3 separate regions of the Homo sapiens genome follow, and all the other regions are linked to region 1. Evidence: promoter capture Hi-C in 16 types of primary human blood cells and fetal thymus (Javierre and others, 2016). All regions are on one chromosome and are shown on one strand. The core of a region is centred on a gene start or on the middle of the fragment in contact, and the rest is flanking DNA. Distances in the headings are between cores, read along the strand shown. Region 1 holds the start of VPS26C (VPS26 endosomal protein sorting factor C). Region 2 overlaps DYRK1A (dual specificity tyrosine phosphorylation regulated kinase 1A). Region 3 overlaps DYRK1A (dual specificity tyrosine phosphorylation regulated kinase 1A).

Region 1 (2,788 bases), core at 222-2,721:
ATGAATTGTTCTAAAATCGCTGAGTTTTGAATTGCCAGGAAAACATTGAAGACAGAGACCAAAGCCCTGAGGGCAGAGAGGAGCTGCAAACCAAGACCTGAATATTTGAAAATACCATTTATTAACCTTCAAATGCAATTGTAGCTGCAGCACCATCACTGCTGGCCTGTAAAACATTTTATATTCTTAAGAGGGAGGCATTCGTGATACTAATTCTTTTTACAGATAGTTTCTGATGTTATCCCAAAAGCAATGCACTTTAAAAAATAATGATCAGAATCAAAGAATTTAAACAAAAAGCAAAGAATTTAAACAAAAAGCACTTTTCACCGCATTATTTAATTAAATCATTTGTCAAAATGAAATTTGACCTTCTGCTTATTGGCAAAATCCTCATTTATAACATTTACAAGAGATTTTAACTCAATAAACGAAGTACGTTAACAGTGCACTGCCCTGCCCTGCAGTAACGCCCCCCACCCCCACAAACTGTATCTGGGGTCAGCTGTTGCTGGGAATAAAAATAATAGGCAGATTCACTCCAGCTTTCAGTCTTTCATTTGCAACCAATCTCCAAGCCCCAGAGCCTGGGGGCCGTGCCTTTCCACCCTTCACGCGGGGCGCACGGATCTGAATATTTAACACCCGGTTCCAGGACACGCGCCTGGGGAACACCCACAATCCCTCGCGGCCCGCGGAGCCCGGCTGGCGGGTGACCCAGCGCCCGCGGCTCCGAGAGGAGCGAGGTCACCCGGCGCTTCCCGAGACCTTGGCCCTAGGCCCAGCTGGCGCTGGGACGCGAGGCAACCGAGCCGCCGGCCAATCAGCGCTTTGCAGGACTAGCACGCAGGGGCCGCACCCCTGAGGGTGACCGGAACCGCTCCCGCGGGAAGGGCAGGGTGCGGCGCCTGGCCGCAGACAGACAAGGGGGCGCCGGCTCTTCAGAACCCCAGGGAGAAAGCGGTGGAGGGCTAGAGTTGAGGAGACTAAGGACATTTGAGGAGGGCAGGCATTACCAAGTTAAAACCTCCTGAAAGACAACTCCATTGGGCGACCGTCTGCGCCGCACAGCCTGACGGGAGCGTCATCCTTCCTGCGCAGGCTGCAACCGACAGACAGGCTCGGCTCCGCCTCCAGCCGCGGGGCACGCGGGGAGAGCCGTTCCTCCCTCCCTCCGCTAACCCGGACAGCAAAGGAGCATTTCCGGCGTAAGACTGTCCCTACGGAAGGGGTGGGGCTAGCTTGGCCCCGTCTTTCACGCCCAGAGGGGGCGGGGTGAACCGTGACAGCGCTTCGGCCCGCACTAAGGCCGGCTCTTGTGCCGGAAGGAGGAAGGCGTGGGCATTCGCCCCTCGGAGCTAGGGAGTGTGTGCGACGCCGCTGCGAGGTCACGTGAGCCACTGCCGGCAGAGAGGGAAAGGGGCGGGGCCCAGAACGAAGCGGGGAGGCGCCCCTTGTTTCCCTGGGGTCACGCGCAGCCGGAAGTGGCGGCTGCTGCGGAGAATTGGAGATGGGGACCGCCCTGGACATCAAGATTAAAAGAGCGAATAAAGTTTATCACGCCGGGGTAAGTGGGGGCTGGGGGTGGGGATGGAGGTGGGGTTGGGCGGGTCTGCAGGTTCCGCTGTCTCCATCGCTCTGCGCACGTCCCGCGTCCCTAGGCGGGGCAGGGCTGTCCCGCCAGGTGCGTCTCCGCCAAGGTGGGTGCGTTCCCGCCAGGTGCGTCCCCGCCAGGTGCTTCCCGCGCGAGGCTGGCTGCCCTGCGAGGAGGCCCCAGGGCAGGCGCCGCCGCCGCATCTGCGGGACGTGCAGGGCAGGCGCCCAGCTCCGGGGCTGCGCTCTTCCCATCTGGCCCCTTGAACACCCGGCGGTGTTGGGTTCTCAGGCTTGAGCTCCCTCAGTGAGCGCTGAGGGCGGAGGAGTTGACGACCAAACTCCCCTTTCCCTCTCTCCTAAGGTGACCGCAAAGGTCTAATGAACGAAAGCTAAAACAAACCTTGGAAGCAGAAATGGGTATGTCTGGCGGCAGCATATATTAGATGGTAGTCACTTTTAACAACATACTAACATACTACGAAAGTTACTGCTTTTTCTGGTTTTATTCTTCGACTGACACAAAGGAATGGCTATTAAAATGCAAGTATAAAAAAGTAAAATCTTGACTATGCCATTAACAGGTTTTGTGACATTGGCCAGTCATTTAACCTCCTTGGGCCTCAGTGTCCTTATTTGCAAATGAGGGTGTTGTAAGGTTCCTCTAACTCGGGGAATCTCAACCCTTACTCTACATCAGAATCAGTCATCCTGGAGAATTTTAAAATATGATTGCTTGGGTTCCACTCCCAGCGATACCGGTGATATATGTGCAGCTAGGGTTGAAATCACAGCCCCAACACTCTTTGGAATAAAATTGATCGCAGTGGTTGGTCATATTAATGCAAAGTAATCTCAAAAGGGACAGAATTTCAGACAAAGGTCTTGGATGGATGCTAAAACTTTTGGGCAAAAGACAACTAGGGAAGCCTGCTCTTATTTACACAAGCTCAAATGGTCATCCCCTTGATGGTTAATTACAAAGGGAAAAATCTGGCCCGCGCGGTGGCTCACGCTTGTATTACCAGCACTTTGGGAGGCCGAGGCGGGCGGATCACCTGAGGTCAGGAGTTCGAGACCAGCCTGGCCAACATGGTGAAACCTGGTCTCTACTAAAAATACAAAAATTAACCGGGCGTGGTGGCGGACGCCTCTAATCCAAGCTACCAGGGAGGCTGAGGCAGAAAAATCGCTG
Region 2 (2,984 bases), core at 141-2,640, 130 kb before region 1:
TCATCATCTTCCATAGTAATGGTAGCCCAGCACATGACGGCCCAACTAGGTTATACCTCCCAGGCTCCCTTGTGGCTGGGTATGGCCATGTGGCTAAGTTCGCATGGAAAGAATGTGAAAACAAGTGCCACTTCTGGGCCTTAGGACACTGAGTGAGCATTTCTATTCTGTCTCTGCACCTCCTACTCTGCATCTTCTGAGCTAGTACAGAGACAACACACGAGGACTATACCCTAGGGCAGAGCAGAGGAACAAGACGGAAAAAAATGCATGACTCCAGATGACCACGTGAGGCAGTCACCGCCACCAACCTAGGCACTCACCTCCAGATGATTCCATGCTCTTAGAGCCATCAAATTGCTGGAACTGTTAGAGTGGCTCAACTGTTTACCCTAATTCACTACTCTCTACATGATAAATGGAACTAATTCCTTCTCACAACTACATCAGTTGAGGACATTCTAATGTGTTCACCATACTTGATGATAAAATTCTGCACCCTGAAGGGCTCTCAAAGGGTCGTCTACCAATTCTTCAAGTTTATAAACAATGAAAGTTAAGCCTATGGAAATTTTAAAACATGGTAGGTAGTAAGAATAGTTGATGCCAGGTCTCTTAACTTCCTAGTTCACTTTTCCCTCAATATTACGCTACGGACTAGATTCTAAAATCATAGAACAGGGAATTACACTTAAAAAAAAAAACAAAAAAACTTTGGATTAATTTAATTCACTGACTCAAAAAATAATTTACCCCAGCATCTATCAATTGCCAAGCAATGTATTTTCAGGTGAATGGAGATTTCCAGAGGACTTCAGTTTTCTGGCTATACTATGCCTTTAACTCTCCTGAGCCTGGACAAATTACACAGAAAACGGACAAATACAAAGAAGTTAACATTACCTTAAATGACAGAAAAATAACTCATTTTGAAAATTTTCTTTAAAGAGGGTAATATATTAGAAACCCTATTCTACTTCTCCCACTACTGCCCTCCATCCCCAACCTAAAAAAAAAAAGAGGCGTTTTCATTTATACCAAGTCCAAAGCCACAAACCAATAAACCCAGATAACAATATGCCTCCTATACCCCTTCTCCTTCCTAGAGGACAAGGGCACAGGGACCTGTGGTCCACCCACTTCACCTACTGGCCCTGCACTACACAGAAAACAGATACATGGGGCCAGGAATCACTCCCAGGAGGAAAGACAGCAATGACTTAAGAACATGTCCCTGAGAGAACATCTCCTATGTTTTGTGTGGCATATAAAAGCCCTGGCTTGTCATATGTTAACAAGGTGGAAAACATGAAGAGTTTTCAGTATACAGTGCCATTATGAAGACAAAAGGTTTCCAAATCCCAGAACAGAGTCTATCCTAACAGGGCTTTATTCACAAGGATAAAAACCAATTGACTTGGATGCAAAATTTCACAGAGTAAATGTTTCCACCCATCTAGAATGTTTTTCTTTTTAATCCATTAAATGTAAGTAAAATCTTAGTATTAAAATAATATAGCCAAAATCACATCCTAAGGTTTCCAAAGATGGGAGAGGGGACACAGATAATGCAGGGCAGGTACTATGCCAGAGTAATTCTTATAGGATTATGTTTCTCAACCTTTTTTTGAGTATCCCATCCCCAGGAGAGAAATTTAATTTAAATTTAATTCAATAAATTAAATGTATTCTTAACAAGGGAAATTAAACATTAAGGAATAAGGTTTTGTCAGGTAAGATTAACTTCTGGAGGGCCACAAACCATGATTAACATCTAAGATTTTCCATCCCCCTCCGAAGAACAATGAGGTGAGGAGCGGGAGCACAGATTCAAGCTGCCCTGAATATATACTCCCCAATAACAATCCTTACACCCTTGAAGGGCGACATCATCCTTACAGAGAATAAGAATACAGGGCCTAAAAATGCGATCTTCAAACTCTGTAACATCCAAACCTCTGCTAAGATACTTAGGTATAGTTAGCCTAGTTAGGTTAAACCTGAGAATCTACATTTCCTAGTGAGCTTTCGGACGGACTCCAATGTATCTGGCCCATGAGCCAAAATGTTTCTGACAAACTTCCACTGTCACATCCAAACCTAATCACAGGATGCCCATCCCTCAAGTCAGAATCAAGAAGAGAACTATTTAAATGGATGAAACAATCCAGGGCATGAAGAAGGGAGAGATCTGTCTGGGGGCGGGGACGCAACTACAGGGAATCTGAGATCCCTCTCTTCTTCCACCTGTACAAAGGACAACCACAGGTGAACTGTAGAATACTTGAGATCGTTTGTGAACTGTAACACGTAACCCAGGAGGAGGTTTATGTCACTGATTTCACGAAGTACATATTCAGGATTTCACAAGTACATATTCAGGGTTTTTATCTAGTCTTTTGCTACTTTAGGTGCAACGTGGAGCTGAGTATCCCATAACCTTTTTGGCACCAGGGACTACTTTTGTGGAAGACAATTTTTCCACGGACAGGAGGAGGTGGGAAATGGTTTCAGAATGAAACTCTTCTACTTCAGATCATCAGTTAGATTCTCATAAGGAGCATGCAACCTAGATCCCTCACATGTGCAGTTCACAACAGGGTTCGCGCTCCTATGAGAATCAAATGCCGCCACTGATCTGACAGGAGGCAGAGCTCAGGCAGAAATGATCGCTTGCCCAAAGCTCACCTCATGGGGTGCAGTCCAATTCCTAACAGGCCACAGACCAGTACCGGTCCACGGCCCAGTGGCTGGAGACCCCTGCCATAAAGTATTCATTGTTCTACTTTCTTCACTCCCAAATCTGTATTTATGATCCGTATCAAGATGAGTACAGTTCAACTGAATTTGAAAAATTATATTAATTTTATACTGCTATTTGAATGGAGTTATAGCAAAAGTTAGAAATACACCACTGCAGGTAACAAACCTGCATGTTGTGCACATGTACCCTAAAACTTAAAGCATAATAATAATAAAATTTA
Region 3 (2,700 bases), core at 39-2,538, 150 kb before region 1:
TAAAAGCTGAGCAGATTAAATGAGTTTTGCCCCAAATTTTGGCTATCTCAACCATCAACTCAGTATCTCTGAGAGCACATCTGGGCCTGAAAGACAAAATCAGGCACTGAGTATTTGGACGTACCAACAAATAGAGGAAAACAGGAGGGAAATGCCTCATATGCACATTACCTGCAACAATACATAATGCACTGACACATCATTTCTAAAACTGAAGGGGAGAAACAGAAGTTTCTGGGGGTAAGTTATCATCAGTAATTGTAAAGTAGTAGTACAGGTACTCTGTTACTAACTCAAAATATGTAAACTACCACTGATATTCTATTTTGCTTGCTGTCCTCTGTCTTCCTTTAGAATGTGAAAACATTTACAATGATTTGCACAGGTTTGTATGACCTTCAAGTCTATCAACTGTTTATCTATTCTCTTGTGAATAGATATTCTCAAAAATGAATTCTCAAACCACAGAGCTTTTCGGGAACCTAACTCCCACTACTAGAAAGTGACTGGTCTATCAAGTAGACACTAGAAAGCACCCCTATCACATGCAGACCTAGGTTCCAAAGGCTCATTTCTAAGACAGTTGGTTAAAAGTCTACATTAAGAACTCCTTTAGTATGTAGTATGTAAAGCCAACTTTTATAAGGCGGGCTTGTTCCAGGCCCAGAAGACCTCAGTGAACTGAGCTCGAAAGTCCCAGTTATGTTTCACTGCATGAGATGACTTATCTTTAATGGGCCCTGGTATAAATTTTCTACTTTAAACCACTAAACCCCATAATTACAAAAAGTAAGTACCACTATCATTCCCATTGTCCAGGTGAGAAAACTAAGGCACAGAGAGGTGAAGTGAAACCATCCCAAATCACACACGACTAATGGTAGAGAGATATTCAAATCCAAGCAAACTGACTACTAAGCCACTGCTTTTGGCCATATTAAACTGAATCTACCATTTCCCCTACTCAAAAAGGGAGGAAAAACAGAGAAAAAATCCACTTCTCCTTTCTGTATTCTCAGTCTTGGGTAACGGGTGTCACCATCAGCCCAATCTCCCAAGGGCAAAAACTGTATTACCTTTGCACCAACCTAATAAAATTCCACCACCCAAAATTTGGTGTTGGAATCTCTGCTCCTTAAATATATGTATATATACATATATATCTTTATATCAACAATTTATATTTGCATCATCATTTTACCAGGTGCACAGTACTCCACTGCAAAGACGTAAATGCATTTTAAGCAAACACCTATTGAGGGTATGTGGCTTGTTTCTAATTTTCACTAGCATGAATTTTAAATCTTAGAGCCTGCTTCTTCCCCTCTGCTAACAGGAACTAAGAGCAAAGTGGTATGAAGAAAACACCAAGAGCCATGAAGACAAGTCCTTTAACTGATATGCTTGCTTAAGGATGTTCTTTTATGTCACCTACACAAAATGTACTCAAAATTTCTATTATTCAAATCAATTCTAGATCTTAAGAGGAACTTAGAAGAGGTGGCCCAATGACGCTCTAGGTGCTCTGGGAATCAAAGCTGAGATCCAGCGCTTAGTGCTATCTATTGTAACGTTTCCCTCACTAACCTGAACATCTAGGGTAATCTCATTTATGTATATATTCCCTAACAAAGGAGTATCTATCAGACAGAAGACATTTAGAAAGAATATGTTCAATCAGTAACCTGCAAGCCCTTCTCATAACTAGCTTATAAGAAATGCACTGGAAAACTGCCTTGCTCTCTCTCCCTTCTGACAGCACCAACTTTTCCACACAGGATGTTCTATAATACAATATATACACACATATATAATTTATATATAAAATGTAAATATATAATTGATTTGCATGAGTGCATGCATACATATACTTAGTTGGTTATATGTACTTTTATACGTATGTAATTATATATCATTTTATAAACCATTGCCTTTAAATAATCCTTGCATCTCAGAAACACAGAAAAATAACAAGGCCCAGAAATAATCAAAAACACACACTGCATGAATAGCTTACATTTTCTTCCAATGAGTCTATTACTAAAAGCAGTAAAGTGAGTTCAGTTTTACTTACTTCCCCTCCCACACTTCTGTGGAGTTTACAGAGAAATGCTACCCCCTTAAAAATTCTTAAAATGTATGTTCTTGTATTTCACAACACTAGCTATCCTCCAAATAATCCATGTCTCTTTCACATTTAGCCCTAACCTCAGATGTGACCTCTGGTTCTATCCCCTGACCGCTTCACTCATTTCTCTATACATCTTTCCCTGCAAAAGAAGTATTTTCAATGGTTTACTCCAAACTAATACTTCAAACTCTCTTCTCCACTCAAACTTTTCACTCAATATCTAGTCTAACAAGCTGTTGGGTGGCTGCCTACAGTGCCACATCCCTGCCTCCATTCTCTATGCCTACAACTCCTCATCACATTCCTGCACCACATGTTATCCACTTGAACTTCCCATCTCTATTCCCGCACCACCATTCTTTCAGTAATTTCATTAGAAGCTGCTGACTTTATCTAAATGGTCTTACTAAATCCTATCCATTTTCGAAGTGCCTCATGCCTTTCCATTCCTCTCCATGCTCACTTTAGTCACCTGAACCAAGTCCTTAATTCACCTTAAGTATTACAAATGCTTCCTAGAATTAACTATCTCCTAGGCCTGATGGTTATGTCATAAACTCTAGGGCAGG

What was found. Contacts are between HindIII fragments. The CHiCAGO score rates a contact against its expected background, and 5 or more counts as called.
Region 2: a contact is called between a fragment that was not itself captured here and the fragment with the promoter of VPS26C in region 1, in 10 of 17 cell types (naive CD4 T cells, naive CD8 T cells, total CD8 T cells and 7 more). The highest score is 9.4, in naive CD4 T cells.
Region 3: a fragment that was not itself captured here is called in contact with the fragment with the promoter of VPS26C in region 1 in 8 of 17 cell types (naive CD8 T cells, naive CD4 T cells, naive B cells and 5 more); the score reaches 8.5 in naive CD8 T cells.

What each region holds. Positions count from the first base shown.
Region 1 is chr21:37,266,017-37,268,804 of GRCh38, reverse strand. It overlaps VPS26C (VPS26 endosomal protein sorting factor C), which reads left to right and starts at 1,471. Exons shown (of 8, transcript NM_006052.2): 1 at 1,471-1,567. The coding sequence starts at 1,511. RefSeq lists silencers at 666-825, 1,566-1,875 and an enhancer at 1,366-1,425. The HindIII fragment of the contact is 6,761 bases long and covers 1-2,788 here.
Region 2 is chr21:37,394,249-37,397,232 of GRCh38, reverse strand. The region is part of intron 1 of DYRK1A (dual specificity tyrosine phosphorylation regulated kinase 1A); the gene reads right to left. Among named protein-coding and RNA genes, the nearest start is that of DYRK1A, 29 kb to the right of the region's middle. The HindIII fragment of the contact is 7,776 bases long and covers 1-2,984 here.
Region 3 is chr21:37,412,528-37,415,227 of GRCh38, reverse strand. All of the region lies in intron 1 of DYRK1A (dual specificity tyrosine phosphorylation regulated kinase 1A), which reads right to left. Among named protein-coding and RNA genes, the nearest start is that of DYRK1A, 47 kb to the right of the region's middle. The HindIII fragment of the contact is 8,167 bases long and covers 1-2,700 here.